4 separate regions of the Homo sapiens genome follow, and regions 2, 3 and 4 are each linked to region 1. The links are contacts of gene promoters, found by promoter capture Hi-C in blood cells and fetal thymus (Javierre and others, 2016). All regions are on one chromosome and are shown on one strand. Each heading gives the region's core, a stretch centred on a gene start or on the middle of the fragment in contact. The rest is flanking DNA. Distances are from core to core; before and after follow the strand shown. Region 1 holds the start of MFAP5 (microfibril associated protein 5). Region 2 holds the start of PHC1 (polyhomeotic homolog 1). Region 3 has its middle 22 kb from the start of PHC1. Region 4 holds the start of A2ML1 (alpha-2-macroglobulin like 1).

Evidence for each region. Contacts are between HindIII fragments. The CHiCAGO score rates a contact against its expected background, and 5 or more counts as called.
Region 2: a contact is called between the fragment with the promoter of PHC1 here and the fragment with the promoter of MFAP5 in region 1, in 15 of 17 cell types (M1 macrophages, non-activated CD4 T cells, M0 macrophages and 12 more). The highest score is 8.6, in M1 macrophages.
Region 3: a fragment that was not itself captured here is called in contact with the fragment with the promoter of MFAP5 in region 1 in 3 of 17 cell types (M1 macrophages, M0 macrophages and monocytes); the score reaches 6.6 in M1 macrophages.
Region 4: the fragment with the promoter of A2ML1 here is called in contact with the fragment with the promoter of MFAP5 in region 1 in 17 of 17 cell types (endothelial precursors, naive B cells, total B cells and 14 more); the score reaches 21.0 in endothelial precursors.

The regions. Positions count from the first base shown.
Region 1 is chr12:8,661,220-8,665,585 of GRCh38, forward strand. It overlaps MFAP5 (microfibril associated protein 5), which reads right to left and starts at 1,607. Exons shown (of 10, transcript NM_003480.4): 1 at 1,408-1,607; 2 at 828-887. The coding sequence starts at 885. The HindIII fragment of the contact is 12,173 bases long and covers 1-4,366 here.
Region 2 is chr12:8,912,577-8,916,942 of GRCh38, forward strand. PHC1 (polyhomeotic homolog 1) reads left to right here and starts at 1,933. Exons shown (of 15, transcript NM_004426.3): 1 at 1,933-2,251. RefSeq lists silencers at 1,815-1,924, 1,975-2,024, 2,095-2,384. The HindIII fragment of the contact is 8,234 bases long and covers 1,011-4,366 here.
Region 3 is chr12:8,890,120-8,894,485 of GRCh38, forward strand. No RefSeq gene overlaps it. Among named protein-coding and RNA genes, the nearest start is that of PHC1, 22 kb to the right of the region's middle. The HindIII fragment of the contact is 4,563 bases long and covers 1-4,366 here.
Region 4 is chr12:8,820,153-8,824,518 of GRCh38, forward strand. A2ML1 (alpha-2-macroglobulin like 1) reads left to right here and starts at 2,469. Exons shown (of 36, transcript NM_144670.6): 1 at 2,469-2,561; 2 at 3,030-3,213; 3 at 3,568-3,730. The coding sequence starts at 2,500. The region is part of intron 1 of A2ML1-AS1 (A2ML1 antisense RNA 1); the gene reads right to left. The HindIII fragment of the contact is 3,171 bases long and covers 1-2,741 here.

The DNA of each region.
Region 1 (4,366 bases), core at 357-2,856:
GAGGCCTGGCAGCCCTTCTAGCCCCACGGCTTCCCCGCTAGCTATGCTAGTGAACAAGACAGAAGAATTATTTTTCTCAATCTGTATCGGAAGAAGGAGGGAAAAAAATAGAGTAGGACATCTTTACAGCCTAAAGTTCACTTTCTGTGGCCAGTCTTCTAGCCAGATTCTGGGAAATCTGTGAAGATCACTTTTCTCTTGTGTGTCAGTATGGCATATATTTTTTGCATGCATGTGAGTATACCTGCATGCATGATGGTAATAGTGTATGTATTCCCACTGTTCTTCTTCAAGATTTACATTTGGTCCAGTTTCTTTTTTTCTTTTTTCCTTTTTTTTTTTAATGGAGATGAGGTTAACTCATCTCACTATGTTGCCCAGGTTGGTCTCAGTGATCCTCTCCACTCAGTCTCCCAAAGTGCTAGGAGTATAGGTGTGAGCCCACCATGCCCAGCCCAGGTCCAGTTTCTTTCTAGGTAGTCCCTCCTCTATGTTTGTGTATGCATTTGTATATCAGCTTCTTTTTTGCTTTGCAATTTGTTTACTCATATGTGACCCTCTTTGGGTGGTTAATATGCATTTGTGTGTATCTTAGTTGCACCTTAGTTTCATAATTCTTGGGAGGCCTTTCCCCTAGTCTGAAGTCTAGTCACATTCCTGAACTTTTTTTCTTAACACAAAATCTGTTCTTCTAATAGGAATTCCAGAGCTCAATACCAAGCATCTCTACTGCTATTCCTCTTCGACCTCATTCCATCCCATCTCCTGCCACACACGTGTATAGCTGAGGAGCTGAGGGTTTAGGGAGCAAAGAATAAAGGACTCACCAGAGGTGATGATGAATGCAGCAAGAAACAGCAGCACCTTGGGTCCCAAGAGCGACATATCTATAGGGGTGGTGGGCATAGCAGAGAATGTGATGCTCAGAGGCACATCAGCATTTCAGTGCCAGGGAAAGATGCCTCTGAGGTCCCTGTCTCTTTGTCTTCCCAGAACTTTCTTCATTTTCCCTTATGACTCAAACCCTTTCTCTCTTTTCTTACCTTTCACCCAACATTCATTTCTCCCTCAAATCTATTCCTTGGTCACTTACCATTATTCTTGCTTTTATTATTCTCTGCTACCAAGTCAGAGGAAATTTTACATTCTACATGGTCCGTACTTGGCCCTACCCTTTGGCCTCTTTCACCCCTGATGTGGAATCTTCCTTTCTCATATGCGTGACTTTTTCATATCATCTGCTCATCTTGGCGTCTCCTTCATCAGAATTCCACGGTTATTTGGGAGGTCTGCTCAAGACTAAGTTCAGTGACATTCCCCATTGCCCCCTCCAGCCCTTTCACACACACACAGACATACACACATTCCCTCTGTCTCTTTAGGGTTTCAGGTAATCAAATAACTCACTGTCTATGGTGTTCTGCTCTTTCCACCGAGTCCTTTGGCTGCTGAATGTGTCTCTCTCCTCTTACGCTGTTCCTACTTTGGCTGGCGAATAAGATGAACAGAGCCACTCCCTGGAAAGGACTTCAGATTTGGCCTCCGCTGAAACAATGAGATGAGGGAGAGCAAGAAAGCCAGGCTAGGCGTAGAATGTGTGTTACAATGAGGCTGGAATGAGAAGGGAGATGGGAATTTGCAGTTGCTCACACCCTCATTCCAAATGTTATGACTACACTGGTGAGAGCTCTTGCTGCTCCCTGGAAGTGTTGGCCCCAGCTCATGTATTGCCTTTCTTCCATTAGCCTATTTTCCCTCCTCTCACGATCTGGTCCCAGCTCCCCTTTGTTCCTTGGGTTCTTTCTTACCGAAAAGTTCCGTCTCCTCCTTGGTGTGTTTTAATGCACATTATAGATGCTGTTTCTCTCTCTCTGGCTATCTTCTTCTTCTTTGTTTTTTGTTTTTTTTTTTTAAGACAGAGTTTTGCTCCTGTCACCCAGGCTGGAGTGCAATGATGTGATCTTGGCTCACTGCAACCTCCGCCTCCTGAGTTCAAGCAATTATCCTGCCTCAGCCTCCTTATATTCCATATTTGAATCATTCCTTCATCCTTCTTTCTCACTTTCTTTTTCAATATTCGTCTCTTCAGCACTAACAAATTTCTTTTTATTCCTGTATTTCTTTTTCATCTCTGCCTCTTTCTTGACCTACACATTTAGACTCTTCTTGTTTTTTTTCCCCTTGGAATATCCTATGTATTCTCACAACCAAGCGAACACAGATACCTTATGAGTTTTGTCCAAGAGGAAGGCTGGCTACCTTAGGGTTATAAAAAGTTGAGGAACTTTTCAGAACTCTCCAAATCATTTTCAAATGTAGAGAAGCTCTGTGAAAGGGGTGCCAGCCTTACTTTGTCTTTTGGCTTTGTTTGAGCTTAACTAAGAATCTGGGTTTCTGGGCTCTTAAGGATAAAATGCAATCAGATGCCCAAAGAAAATTGAAAGGCAAGGTTATTATGCTTGCCTCATTTTCTACCAATATTTTTCCTTAGATCATATAATGTGTAGATAACACTTTCTCTGATCCAGGATTTTTTCTTTTTTTTAAGATAGGGTCTTGCTCTGTCACCCAGGCTGGAGTACAGTGGCATGATCACAGTTCACTGCAGGCTTGACCTGGGCTCAAGTGATCCTCCTGCCTCAGCCTCCTAAGTCGCTGGGACTACAGGTGCATGCCACTATGCCAGGCGAATTTAGATGTATTTTTTTGTAGAGACAGGATTTTGCTATGTTGCTCAGCCTTGATTCAGGAATTTTAAAGGCTTTGTATTTCTTCTTATTCACAGAGACTCTAGTGGTTCAACCACTAAAACATTCCCGCTTTGGATTCAAGAGCAAACTTGAATTACAGAAACTCAAGTCTGAGGAATGGTGGACCTTGTATGCCATAGAAATATGTAAGTTTCAGGTTTCCTGTTGGCTCCCCTTTAGTCTACATTATATATCTCCCTGATGAAATAAATTAGAGAAGAGTACAGGTAGACAGAGAGCAGATAGTATTAATAAATTACATACTAGAAGAAAATAAAAGGGGGTATGATGGAAGGAAGGAAAGAAGGAAAGAAGGAAGGAAGGAGTCTAGTTGAGAGGAAAAAAGAGCAGTGGACACAGAAATAAGCAAATCGCACTTTGTAAGCACCTCTGGGACCTCCGAGGGAGCTGTAAGTGCTACATCTCTAAGATACATGGAATCTGGTCAGTCCGCAGAACAAGCTGAGTGCTACGCCCAGCTCTTCCTGATCTTCCTGCCCCAGAACTTGCTCTTCTTCCATCTGCTCCCCAGTGAAGGGGCTGAGACTAGAAAACAGATGTGATTCTAGTCTGAGGAGAGTCAGGGGAAGAAAAGGGTGTTGGGAGAAGAAACAAAAAAGCAGATGCAAAGCAGGACATAGCTAAGGCAGGACATAGAATAGAGAGCCTAGAGCAACAATCAAGTTTTCCATGAAGCTCAGACAGATGGAGACACTGAACTCAGGCCAGTCATTTGGCAGGGAGAGCAATGACCTCAATGTGCTGGCCTGGCTAGAGGCTATAGTTTAGGAGAGCCTCCCCAGGCAGTGGGAGGGGGCGTTCTCCTGGGGTTGTAGGAGGTAGTCTGGAGTTGGGGCAGTGAAAATAGGAACAGAATGTTCAGAGCAGGGCTGAAGAAGAGAACAGGCAGGGAGTAGCATCCTAGAAGGAAAGGAGAGGTAGTGAGACAGGAACTGGCAGAAGAGCAGGACAACCATATATTGTTGGGTTTTAAAGACTTTTGAGAATGCAGTTTGTTTCAAGGTTGGTTAGTTTCTTTTTTTTTTTTTTTTTTTTTTTGTGAGATAGAGTCTCGCTCTGTTGCCCAAGCTGGAGTGTAGTGGCGTGAACTTGGCTCACTGAAACCTTCGTCTTCTGGGTTCAAGTGATTTTCCTGCCCTAGTAACTGGGATTACAGGCATCCGCCACCAGGCCCGGCTAATTTTTGTATTTTTAGTAGAGAGGGGGTTTCGCCATGTTGGCCTGGCTGGTCTCGAACTCCTAACCTCAAGTGATTTGCTCCCCTCAGCCTCCCAAAGTACTGGGATTACAGGTGTGAGACACCACACCTGGCCAAGGTTGGTTAATTTTTTCATGGCAACTATGGCGGGCCCTTTATTCTACTACAGTTCCCCATTTGTTCTCAGAGCCCAGGTTTGGATCCCCAGGCTTAGAGATCCTCAGATTTGCTTTTCTCAGGGTGATTTTGTCAGCCTCTGTTGCATTGTACATTAATTAATCATTTAATGACATCAAGTCAAAATCAGCACCAATGGTCAGAAACGAGCAAATGCCATCCAGAGTTACAAGTCCATAATTTTCTGGGGTTCTTTTTGACTCACTGAGTAGCAATCCAT
Region 2 (4,366 bases), core at 683-3,182, 250 kb after region 1:
CTTATCCCCTAACATTATCTAGTAGCTATAGGAGCCGGTGACCTAGTAAATAAAAAAAAAAAATCTTTAGGGGTGGAATGTAACTATATGCAGTAGCGGTAATTCTGCTCCATTTGTAAGGAGGGTGAAATGCGATATGGTCATGTACCCTCTTGGTACACAAGTTCCATAGGCTATAGAAAAACAAGTCCATACCCTCTGATATCTGCATTCCTTATTCTTGTTATAGCTTACAAATCTTCTTTAGACACTTAACAGTGATAATTCTCCCAGGGAAACTAAGGAAGCACATGAGTCATGTTTCTTAACTTTAATGTTGTATAATCTGAAAATTATCTATAGATGCTTTTTTTTTCCATTGGTGCTAGAAAATTCCGCCTAGGCTCAATCGATATCCATTTCTAAACTTCTGCAAGAAAGCTTTAACTGCTTTGACATGCCAAAAATCCAGGTGTGAATTAAACAACGAATGCTTTACCTCGTTTTCACCACTAGTTCTACCAGTCAGAATCTTTTCAAATCATCCTCAGCCAGTGCCTGTCATCCACGGCCTGGTAACACACCCTTTCACCTCCTCATACCCCGTGTCTTCGCTTTTCCAGTCCTTTGGCTGCCCTCCGGTTTCTTCCCTCACATACCTGTCTGACTAGTTCCTAGAAGCCTGGCAGAAATTGTTCTCCGATTTTAATCTGGCTGCCACAAATGAAAGACCTTGGAGTCCAAATACTCCTCTCTCAAAGCAAAATCTAAATGGATATAATTTATAAGCAAAGATAACACTTCTGTTTTTTTCTCTATAAACAAACCATGCATGGGCTTTTAAAGGAGAAAAGGAAGAGTGGATTGACAGAGAAAATAACTGTTTAGGATAGAGGTTAGGAAAAGACTGAGAGCAAGAGAAAAGGCATCAATCCCAGTTGTTAATCCACGAGGCATCCCCCAGACCCTTCTGTAAAGGTTAATGAAGGCAGTAAGGCAGTTATCTTTGTTTCGTGCACTGATGCAATCCAAGCTTCCACGGTTTAGCACATAGTAGACGCTCTATAAATATTTATTGAATGTTGAACGATGAGAGAGTAATTAAAAACCGGTAAGTTGATATCATAAATACAACGACAACGGCTCCCCTATCAAATGTTTAGTGTTCCCAGAGACAGCCCCATTGTTCTACATCTCGTTATACTCTGGCCTTTTCCCGTTTTTGTCATTCGAACTCATATACATATTGAAATCGAAGCACACACAAATCCCTGAAATGACAAACTTAAATGCTATCCAAAGGAAGTTACATTAGGTTGCTGCTTTGAAAATGAAGTCAACTCCTAATGGGTTAGCTGTTTCTGCAGCATTCTTTCCCGCCTTCTTGGAGTTGAGGTGAGGGATTAAACAATCAACCTTCTCTCTCCTTTCTCTCATTCTCAAAGTTTTTCTCGCCTTTTCCTTCCTTTCCTTTGCTTCATTTCTTTTCCCAGTCTATCGTTTCTCTAGGGGTCGTTGCTTTGCTCTTTCTCCCTCTCTGTCTGTTGGTCCCTTTGATCCTTTCTTTCTACCCCTTATTCCCAGCAGCTCCAGAAAATACCTTCTTTCTCCCCGTCTCACGTCACTTCCCTCCCTTCTCCCATCTCCCTCTCCTCTCCGAGAGGTGCGTTCCCCACTAGAGGCCAGCACTTTCTTAGTTTCGTCCTTCCAACCGGCGAGCAGAACTCGGAGAGAAAGAAGGGGGTAAAAAAGAGGAGAAAGAGAGCAAGAGAGGAAAAAACCCCTGGGCCTGGAGCGCAGAGGCCCGGGAGCTGCGTCGCCATGGCAACGGGCGCCGGCAGGAAACGAGGGACGCGCGGGAGGGAGGGGGCGGAGGGCGCCGAGGGGAGGCGGAGGGACGGCGGGGGGGGGGTCCGGCTGCCCCGGAAGCACCTCCCCGCAGCCCCCTCCTCCAGCCCGGCCCGCAGCCCCTGGCCTGCGGCCCCCACCTTCTCGGCCGGGCAGGAAGTGACAGGCCCGGAGCGAGCCCCGGAGGCCTGGCTGAGCCGCGGCCGGGCCCGCACCCGGAGCGGCGGGAGGGGCGGGGAGCCGCGGTCGCGCCGGGCGCCTCCCACCCCGCCCTCGGCGCCCCCGCCCCTCCAGGAAGGGGAGGAGGCGAGGGGAGCCCGCCGCGGAGGCCGAGCGAGCCCCCAGCCCAGCCTGGCGACTGGGGACCCCGGCACATGAGGTGGACGCCCCCGGGGAAGACTTGGGTGCACAGCCAGGCGAGAAGGTAACCGGGCGACCGAGGGCCGGGGAGGGGCAGGACCTCTGGGGGCTTGGCTGCGCGGGGATGTATCCTCAGCCACCTCCATCTGTGTAACGCCCCAGGTACCTCCCCCAGTTGCTTTCCCTGCCTACCTCCGGCGCTGAGCTCTGCGGTCCTTCGGCTCTGCCTGTCCGAGTCTTCTGGCTATTCATTCTGCTGCGCTTCATGCTGTCTGTCCGTCACCCTAGCTGCCTCTGACTGCTCATTTTCTTATTCATTTTTCCTTCTCTGACTTTGGTCCTTCCAGCCGAGCATGCTGTCTAGTTATCTCCCTGCTTTCGTGGTCCGCTGGGTTCCTCAGCCTCCAGTTCCTTGACTTCTGCCTCTGCTCTCTGTATGCACATGTCCCAGCTCACTTGGGTCAGTTCATTCCCGGCGCACCACTGGATCCACCCCCTTCCCCCAGTGTATTTGATTTCTCTTTGAAACATCATTTTCATCAAGGTTCTATATAGAACGAGGACCCTTGGGCGTCTACTCCCTGTTCTCTTGATTATTACCGTGTCTTTGGCACAGTCTTCCCTGAACCACCCCCTTCTCCCGTCCCCCTTCCTATGTCCCATCCTTTCTGCATGATAAGAGTTTCGTGCTTAGGGATATTGACTTTCTCCAACTCTCGGCCCAATGCTAAGTCCACCTCAATGTCCCATTCTAACTCCCTTCGGTAGGTCTGTGCGCCTACCCAACCCCATGTATGCCCACATGCTACCTTTTAAGATGACCATGGCTTAGCTACTCTGGGGGCATCTGTGGATCAGCTTCTCACTGTCTTCCAGTTTAATTTGGAAAATTTTGATACCTGGTGCTGCCCAAACTGTTTGTTGTCTCCATTTTTTATATTTAATCTTGTAGTCATAATGTTGATCACAAATGAATACATTTATGTGCCCGGGATCCAGGAATCCTGGTTTTGGTGGCAGTTTCCCTTGATTTTATTGAGACTTTTAAGTTGGTCCCTTTACATTTTTATTTCTAGTTCACAATCCAAAAAAAATTATTAATCAGAATTCAGGTTTGGGAAGACGAGGGGTCATACGGTTTGTATTTTCACATGTGAATGTAGGAATTATGTTCTCTATACCTAGCAAAGGGGTCTCGTGTCTCTGAGTCCAGTGAACTAAATCCAGTAATCTATAAAACTGTGCCGTGCTGCCTCTAATCCTTACCCACTTTTTTTCTTCACATGCTGATAATGAGGATTCATGGGTCTGTATCTGTTTAGTGCTTTGATATTTTGGCAAAAGATGTGGGGAGAAGGTAGACTAGTTGAAGCTGATATGATTTTTCCTATGTACTTTTTGGGTAATATACATGTTTGCAGTGACATTTGCTAGTCCTAAATGAAACTAAAGACTGGGGGGGGATAATAGTGTGATTGGATGATACTGGGAATGAGATAATAAGAAATATCCTCAGCTTTATTGCCAAGGCCAAGCAGTTTGATACTTTGCTTGTTTGTTTGTTTTGGATGCAATCCCTAAGACCAGTCCATTCACCCTAATGAAACTGTTGACAACACTTAGCAGAAATTCTGGTTTGATGTTTATATTCTTAAGCCAGATAATATTTTGGTGACCTGATATTTCTAGTGGCCCAGTGCCTCAGAAGTAGAGAAAATAGTGTGTAGCTTAACAAAAGAGAAAAACAAAAAAAAAGAATGAGTAAAAACCTTATTGTCATTTAGTGCTGCTTTGGAAGAATATTTCTTCTTCTCATCTCCTGCCTCTTTGCTTGGTTCTTAGCAGTGTTTTCATATGTGTCTTTTTGCAAATGTAAGTGTAGTCCCCAGTGGGTAAATTCTGACATGTTAGTAGATTATAAAGTTGCATCTTACTTTCTTGAAGATTTTCATTGTGTGTATTTCTATGTTTCATACTCCGGAGTCATTTCTTAAAATGATATATTACATTCAGTATGAAGCCTCCTTTGCAGTGAGGAAACAGGTATAAGGAAGGAAAGCAACATGCCTGAGGTGTTATTAGTAGCCTGAGCTGGAACCAGGCAGCTATTTGGGCTATGTGGGCTGTAGGTGAGCTCTTCTGCTTCCTAGTTTTATGACCTTCCATGACCCACTGAATG
Region 3 (4,366 bases), core at 856-3,355, 230 kb after region 1:
TTGGGAGGCTGATGCAGGTGGATCACTTTGAGCTCAGGAGTTCGAGACCAGTCTGGCCAACATGATGAAACCCCATCTCTACTAAAAATATAAAAATTAGCCTGGAGTGGTGGTGCACACCTGTAATCTCAGCTACTTGGGAGGCAGGAGATTTGCTTGAACCTGGGAGGCGGGGGTTGCAGTGAGCTGAGATCACGCCACTGCACTCCAGCCTAGGTAAAAAAGCAAGACTCCGTCTCAAAAAAAAAAAAAAAAGAAAAGAAAAAAAGAAGAATGCTGTTTTAAAATCTTTCATTTTTTATTTTTAAAAAATAGGGACAGGGTTTCACCGTGTTGCCCAGGCTTTTCTCAAACTCCTAGACTTAAGCTGTCCACTGGCTGCAGCCTTCCAAAGTCCTCGGATTACAGGCTTGAGACTCTGTGCCCGGCCTGTTTTAAAAATCTTAATTGGCATTTAATATATATTCAATAAATATTAGCTATTATTGTGAAGAGAGATTCTGGACCTTTCTTGCCAGGAGGTAAAATTTCCACTCTCAATGTAGGCCCCTGTTGTTTCACTGGGACCTTTCTCCCCTCTCTACAGCTTTCCCCTTCCCCAGCCCCAGGAAAGGTGGAGGCGCCACCTTCTGGTCAGAAAGGAGATTACACAATGGTGTCCTGCTTTTAAACTTTTTGTTTTGTTTTAGCATTTATTTTCGAATAGACAATACACGCCCACGTAAAAATTCAAAGGTCCTAAGAGACACCTTCCACATTTCTTCTCTCAGTTCCCTCCTCGGATGTAACCTATACTATTACTTTTGCCAAATGTCAGCGCCCTGAAATACACCACCCGAAATCTCACAGATAGGCAAAGCTGGAGTTTATTCATGTCTTAGCAAGGGAGCACACCGCCTTGCGGAAACTTGAGCAGCATCTGGGAGGGGAGGGCAAAGGGAGGATATTTATGAGGTTCTAGGTTGGATTAAGGTGGGTCTTTCAGTGAAGGGCTCTGATTAAGTTTGGGTACGGATCATGATTTAGCAAGGTGAGGGCTTAAAAAAGTTTTGGAGCATGAATAATCATTTGATAACTGTACTGGAAAGCTAAGCAATTTAAAATACGTTGTCTGGATATTCCTGAAATGAACAATAACATTATTTAAAAGTTTTATTTTAAAAAGTTTTTTCAGTTAAAAAAAATTAAAGGCATAAGTATGATACAAAGGACTTTGGGGACTTGGGCGGAAAGGGTGGGAAGGGAGAGAGGAATAAAAAACTACAAATTGGGTTCAGTGTATACTGCTCGGGTGATGGGTGCACCAAAATCTCACAAATCACCACTAAAGAACTTACTCATGTAACCAAATACCACCTGTGCCCCAATAACCTATGGAAATAAAAAGTTTTTAAAAATTTCATTTTGTGAGTGCAGAGTAGGTATATGGGATACATGAGATGTTTTGATACAGGCGTGTGATGTGTAATAATCACATCCGGGTAAATGGGATATCTATGACCTCAAGCATTTATCCTTTGTGTTACAAACAATACAATTAGGCCAGGTACAGTGGCTCACGCCTGTAATCCCAGGACTTTTGGGAGGCTGAAGTGGGTAGATCACTTGAGGTCAGGAGTTGGAGACCAGCCTGGCCAACATGGCAAAACCCCATCTCTGCTGAACATACAAAAAGTAGGCGGGCGTGGTGGCGGGCGCCTGTAATTCCAGCTACTCAGGAGGCTGAGGCAGGAGAATTGCTTGAACCTGGGAGGCAGAGGTTGCAGTGAGCCAAGACTGAGCCACTGCACTCCAGCCTGGGTGACAGAGTGAGACTCTGTTTCAAGAAAAAATAATAATACAATTGTACTTTTAGTTATTTTAAAATGCACACTAAATTATTATTGATTAGAGTCACTCTGTTGTGCTATCAAATACTACATTTTATTCATTCTATTTTTTTGTACCCATTACCCATTCCCATTACAGCTTTTATTTTTGGGGCAAGGGCTTCCTGAAATACTAAAGTCTTGTTGGTAAAGACAGTAGAATAGCAAAGTCAAGCTAATGTAGGCAGTAAAGTGTGTGGGTGGGGCTTGGCTAATTCTCAGTTTCTGGTATATCTTTTCAGAGATATTCTGTGCTTATTCAACTATACATGTATAAATTTCTTTTATTATTATTTTTATCTTTTTATTTTTTTTTGAGACAGAGTCTTGCTCTGTCACCCAGGCTGGAGTGCAGTGGCACGATCTCGGCTCAGTGCAACCTCCGCCTCCCAGGTTCAAGTGATTCTTCTATCTCAGCCTCCCAAGTAGTTGGGATTATAGGCTCCCACCACCAAGCCCAGACAACTTTTTTGTATTTTTAGTAGAGACAGGGTTTCACCATGTTGGCCAGGCTGGTCTCACACTCCTGACCTCAAGTGATCCTCCCCTCTCGGCCTCCCAAAGTGCTGGGATTACAGGTGTGAGCCACCGTGCCCAGCCTATACATGTATAAATTTAAGAAATGTGATATTTTCCCCTTTACCAGTTGTTGCAGAAATCCAGAAACTGAGTATGAGATATTCCTTAAATAATGGCGATCCAACAGCGTTTGCTCTGTGGTGATATGTGATGTACTTTCCCAAAGTACGTATATTTACGTATTTTGTGTTGAATGGAATTACCGTTTGAGGTATTCTAGTGTTTTCCCTCTCAGCAATTTATCTAACAGATTATGGTTTTGGCAAAATCTGTGGGGCACATTTTCTTATTCCTGGTTTCCTCTTTTCCATCACAAAGCAGAGTACAGGGCTGAGTGGCAGGGGACAGAAATAATTATTCCATAAGCACTGAAATCTGAAGGCCAGCAGAGGGGCCTTCATTAAGTGCGAATCTGTTGGGCACCCACTGAGTAGTGAACAGGATGAATGTGACAACCACACTCCCTGCCCTTCCCAGGCTTGCAGCTTAGTGAGGGAGAGCAACACTGCCTGCCCTTCATTAGGGGGATGAATGTGACAAAGCACAGTCAGGTTGTGGGAACCTAACCTAATCTTTGGGCTGAATTAAGAATTCCCAGAAGTGACACTCAAGTTGCAAGATGAAGAATAAGCAGGAATGAGACAGGTGAGGGGTGCGGTGTGGGAGGATTGTTCTTGTAAGGGGAGATAGCCTATGCCTTCTCTGGAACCGAGATTACTTTTCTCCGTGTTTCTGGTTTCTGTGTTCCGCCATTTGTTCTGTACATCTTGTGGTCTGCTTTCCAGATTTTTTTTTTTTTTTTTTTTTTTGAGACGGAGTCTCACTCTGTCCCCCAGTCTGGGGTGCAGGGGCGCAATATCGGCTCACTGCAAGCTCCGCCTCCTGGGTTCACGCCATTCTCCTGCCTCAGCCTCCCAAGTAGCTGGGACTACAGTCACCCGCCACCACGCCCGGCTAATTTTTTGTATTTTTAGTAGAGATGGGGTTTCACCGTGGTCTCGATCTCCTGACCTCATGATCCGCCCGCCTCGGCCTCCCAAAGTGCTGGGATTACAAGCGTGAGCCACTGCGCCCAGCTTTCCAGATATTTTGAATAGGAATGTACACATAGACTTTCCAAGTGAGGAAGTCACCATCCTAAATGCATAAGAATCCATCCTATGACTAAAGTCCCTCATCAGCGAGAGCCTCTCATGTTAGTGGTCCTAGGGAGACAAGACCCTGTACCTTTTTTAGTTCTCAGGAGATGGAGTGAAGACTATTTTCTGCACTCTTGATAAAGTTCAAGAAATGCCCATCATTGGCAGAAAATAGAATTAGAATTTCTTAGAATTGGAAATGTCTTTAGAAATCATGCAATCAGGTCTCTTCAACTGAAAAATGAGGAAAATAAGACCCAAAGTGCAGAATTCCTTTCTAAAAATTTTAATTATTTTAAAATTATTATTACTTTATTTATTTATTTATTTATTGAGATGGAGTTTCACTCTTGTTGCCCAGGCTGGAGTACAATGGTGTGATCTCAGCTCATCAGCTCACTGCAACCTCCACCTCCCGGGTTCAGGAGATTCTCCTGCCTCAGCCTCCTGAGTAGCTGGGATTACAGGCGCACACCACCACGCCCAGCTAATTTTTTTGTATTTTTAGTAGAGACAGGGTTCCACCATGTTAGCCAGGATGGTCTCGATCTCCTGACCTCCTGATCCGCCTGCCTCGGCCTCCCAAAGTGCTGGGATTACAGGCGTGAGCCACTGTGCCCAGCTTATGATGTCAAATTTTAGATGTCAACTTAAAAATATATCAGGGGCACATTTAAAGTATTTTATTTTGATATACACTTTAATATTAAAAAATTAATTTTGCAAATGGTGATTCTCTGAATTCTCATGTTAACTCTTAAAATTTTATTTCCTTTAGGG
Region 4 (4,366 bases), core at 1,219-3,718, 160 kb after region 1:
ACAGACTGAAACTGCCTTTGCAAAATTGTAACAGGAAATTATGACAGTGCAAGAAGTCAGACCTAACCGACTCTATCTTGCTTCTAACCCTTAAGCTGTCCTTGTTTATTCCTGGGCATAGGCCGAAGTAACTTTGGGAAGGAATTCAGTTCATGGTTTGACTCTGAAACAAAATTGATAACAGCCCTTTCCCAAAAAGACCCCCTTCTTGCCCGGGGTCCAGTCTGCCTTTGTAGGACTAACAGATTAGCTACAAGATTAGAAATTACAGTTTAGAGGCCGGGTGCAGTGGCTCGCGCCTGTAATCCCAGCACTTTGGGAGGCCAAGGCGGGCGGATCACGAGGTCAGGAGATCGAGACCATCCTGGCTGACACGGTGAAACCCCGTCTCTACTAAAAATACAAAAAATTAGCCGGGCGTGGTGGCGGGCGCCTGTAGTCCCAGCTACTCGGGAGGCTGAGGCAGGAGAATGGCGTGAACCCGGGAGGCGGAGCTTGCAGTGAGCCGAGATCGCGCCATTGCACTTCAGCCTGGGCGGTAGAGCCAGACTCTGTCTCAAAAAAAAAAAAAAAGAAATTACAGTTTAGAGGTCATGCAGCCTCTGGCTCCAAGAGTCTGAACCTCCCCAAATTGCTCCTGGGGATAACATCACTGCTGTAAAACCTAAGATCAGTAATTGAGTTATTTTGCAGGCCCTGCACTCCATGGGATCAGCTGACACCACACAGACCAGTCATCTGGCCCAACCAGTTCTGCCATCTCACCCAGGAACAGAAGACATTAAGAAAATCTAACTTCGACCCTCTATGATTCCATCTCCAACCTGAGCAATCAGCACTCCCCACTTCCCAAGCCCCTACCTGCCAAATTATCTTTAAAAACTCTGATCCACGAAGGCTCAAGGATTTAAGTAATAATAAAACTCCAGTCTCCCACACAGCCGGCTCTGCGTGAATTACTCTTTTGCCATTGCAGTTCCCCTGTCTTGATAAATCGGCTCTGTCTAGGCAGCAAGCAAGGTGAATCCATTGGGTGGTTACAAAACGGGGTCTCACTATGTTGCCCAGGCTGGTCTCAAACTCTTGGGCTCAAGCAATCCTCCAGCTTCTGACTCCCAAAAGCTGGGATTATAGGCATGAGCCACTGCACTTAGACTAATTTATATTTTAGGTGACTTCTAAGTATTACCATCATAAAGAACACTGTGGGCTGGGCACGGTGGCTCATACCTGTAATCCCAGCACTTTGGGAGGCTGAGGTGGTCCCTGGAGCTCAGGAGTTCGAGACTAGCCTGGGCAACATGGTGAAACCCTGTCTCTATTAAAAATACAAAACAATTAGCCAGGAGTGTTGGTGCCTACCTGTGGTCCCAGCTACTCAGGAGGTGGAGGTGGGAGGATCGCTTGAGCCCAGGAGGTCAAAGCTGCAGTGGGCTGAGATTGTGCCACTGCACTCCAGCCTGGGTGATAAAGTGAGACTCTACTTCAAAAAAATAAAAAATAAAGAAAAGAAAAAAAAGAAAGAACAGTGTGAAAAAACTCAGTGTTACACTTGTGCATACATGCATGCTGTCCTTTTTTTCCTCATTAAGAAACATTTCCAGAGTAGGAGTTGCTGAGTGAAAGAATATGCAAATCTCAAAGGCTTTGGTGTGTATTACAAAATTGCCATGAGAAAGTTATCCACATTCTATTTTCTCTAGGACTGTGTGTGTCCCTATTTCCATACAGTCACAACAATACTGAGTAGTATTAATTTTTTTTTTTTTTGAGACAGAGTCTCGTTGTGTCACCCACGCTGGAGTAAAGTGGCATGATCTCGGCTCACTGCAACCTCCACCTCCCGGGTTCAAGCGATTCTCCTGCCTCAGCCTCCCAAGTAGCTGGGACTATAGGCACCCACCACTATGCCCAGCTGATTTTTTTTTCTTTGTATTTTTAGTAGAGACAGGGTTTCACTATGTTGGCCAGGCTGGTCTTGAACTCCTGACCTGGTGATCTGCCCACCTCAACCCCCCAAAGTGCTGGGATTACAGGCGTGAGCCACTGTGACCGGCCAAGTTTACTGCTTTTCTATTGAAACTGTTCTCATACCCGTGTTCCCAACTACACCTTAATTGAATAATAAAAGAAAATAAGGACATTAAATGAGAACAGGAATTGGAATGAGACCAGAAAAAAAGGGAGGAGTTCAAAATATGTTCTGAGAGCTTTACCATTATGAATACTCAGCTCTGGTTTTCCCCCAAAACTGGCTGAACCAGTATGGATGTTCCAGGCAGAAACAACTTTAAAGAAGTGAATAGTGGCCCTACCCTGGTCCACCACCTAACCTGGTGGTTACAGAAGGAGGAACACAGTCCTCCTGTGTTCCAGGTGCCAGGAGGTGACTGACTATAGCATCAGTCATCACTGCACACCCTACCTGGAATTAGTATATAAAGCTACGCGGAGCGATCTCTGCCCCTGACCCTGGAAAAATCTGTCTCACCCACAAAGATGTGGGCTCAGCTCCTTCTAGGAATGTTGGCCCTATCACCAGCCATTGCAGAAGAACTTCCGTGAGTGCTTGGTGTCAGAATTGGTTTATTAGGGCAGCGGCTTCTTCGCCTAACTTTCTCAAACATTTATATGGAGATGGGGAGATCAACTTTGGTTTATCTTAATTTCCTCCTCCTTTTTTCTCTTCTTTGGTTCCACTGATCCTTTACCCAGAGAGGGAGGCTGACGCATGAAGAGGAAGCTTTAAAAAAGATAAATATTAAAATGTGCCCTGTTTTCTGAAATAGGCCTAATTTCCTCCTTGGTGCTCTAGGCATGTGTGCTCGGTGAGGGCCTCCTGATGGCGGAAGTTGAAGACTGTGCACTGAGTCGTTGCCCCTCTGCTTCTTGTAGAAAATGAGGTGCATAAGGAAGGCAGGGGCTTGGTCTGTCTAATTCACTGCTACTTGCTGAGCGCTTAGGAGAGTGCTGGATTTTTCGAGTGAATGAATCATTATTGCCCTGAAATCCTTCTGCTCCTTTAATAGAAACTACCTGGTGACATTACCAGCCCGGCTAAATTTCCCCTCCGTTCAGAAGGTTTGTTTGGACCTGAGCCCTGGGTACAGTGATGTTAAATTCACGGTTACTCTGGAGACCAAGGACAAGACCCAGAAGTTGCTAGAATACTCTGGACTGAAGAAGAGGCACTTACATTGTATCTCCTTTCTTGTAAGCACAGACTCAGCCCTCACTCGAATCCCTTACTTGCCTATTCTCCTCCCTAGGCTCACTATAATCTACTTTAAGTATAATTTCTGTTATCTTTTGCCACGGCCTCTAAACCTATTTTTTCTCAACTTAACCTCAATCCCCGGCTATAACTCACCCACGGTTTCCTCGACCTAGGATTTCTCCCTTTAGTTCCTGACCTTAATTCTTCCTCGTGGTAATTTGTTTTATGTCTCTATCCTTGCTACCCCCATCTAACTCAGCTCTTTCCTTTAACTCACTGTTGGGTTGAGACCAGTTGATTCTGTTCCCCCAATCCCTTACCCCTCCCCAGAAGTCCCCTTTCTTGGTCAGGTACCACCTCCTGCTGGTGGCACAGAAGAAGTGGCCACAATCCGGGTGTCGGGAGTTGGAAATAACATCAGCTTTGAGGAGAAGAAAAAGGTTCTAATTCAGAGGCAGGGGAACGGCACCTTTGTACAGACTGACAAACCTCTCTACACCCCAGGGCAGCAAGGTAAGAGTCACATATTTGGGGTTCGACTAAAACCTGGGGAAACCGCTGTGCACAGGGGTAAAGAGGGGATTTGTGGTTTGACAGTAGGCTTTGGAAAAAAAGGAGTGCAGAGGAGAGGAAAATCTGGGGGGATTAAGTAGTGCAAGTGTTGAATACATGCTGCGCTACACAAGCAAGAGAAGTAGGTGGGGGTTGCTACTGAGTTTGTGTATCTAAAACAAAAGTACACATTTCTTCTGGAATAGAATTTGGCAAGTATAACTGGGTTGCTGGGCCTTACAACAAACTGCTTGTAAATGGCTAAGAAAGCACTGAGGGCATTTGGCTTGAGCTACTGGGGTTTTTTTTTTTTTTTTTTTTTTTTTTTGTATTTGTTCATTCGTCCTTACAGGGGCACTTCATTCTGAGATTTCAAAGTCAGGCACCCTGAAAAGAAACTATGTTTGGGTTTTTTTTATTTTTTTATTTAAAATTTTTGTGGGTACATAGCTGGTGTATATATATTTATGGGGTAGATGAGATATTTTTATACACACACACAATGTGTAATCATTACATCAGGGTACATGTGTATCCATCACCTCAAGCATTTATCATTTCCTTGTATTACAAACAATCCAATTATACTCTCTTAGT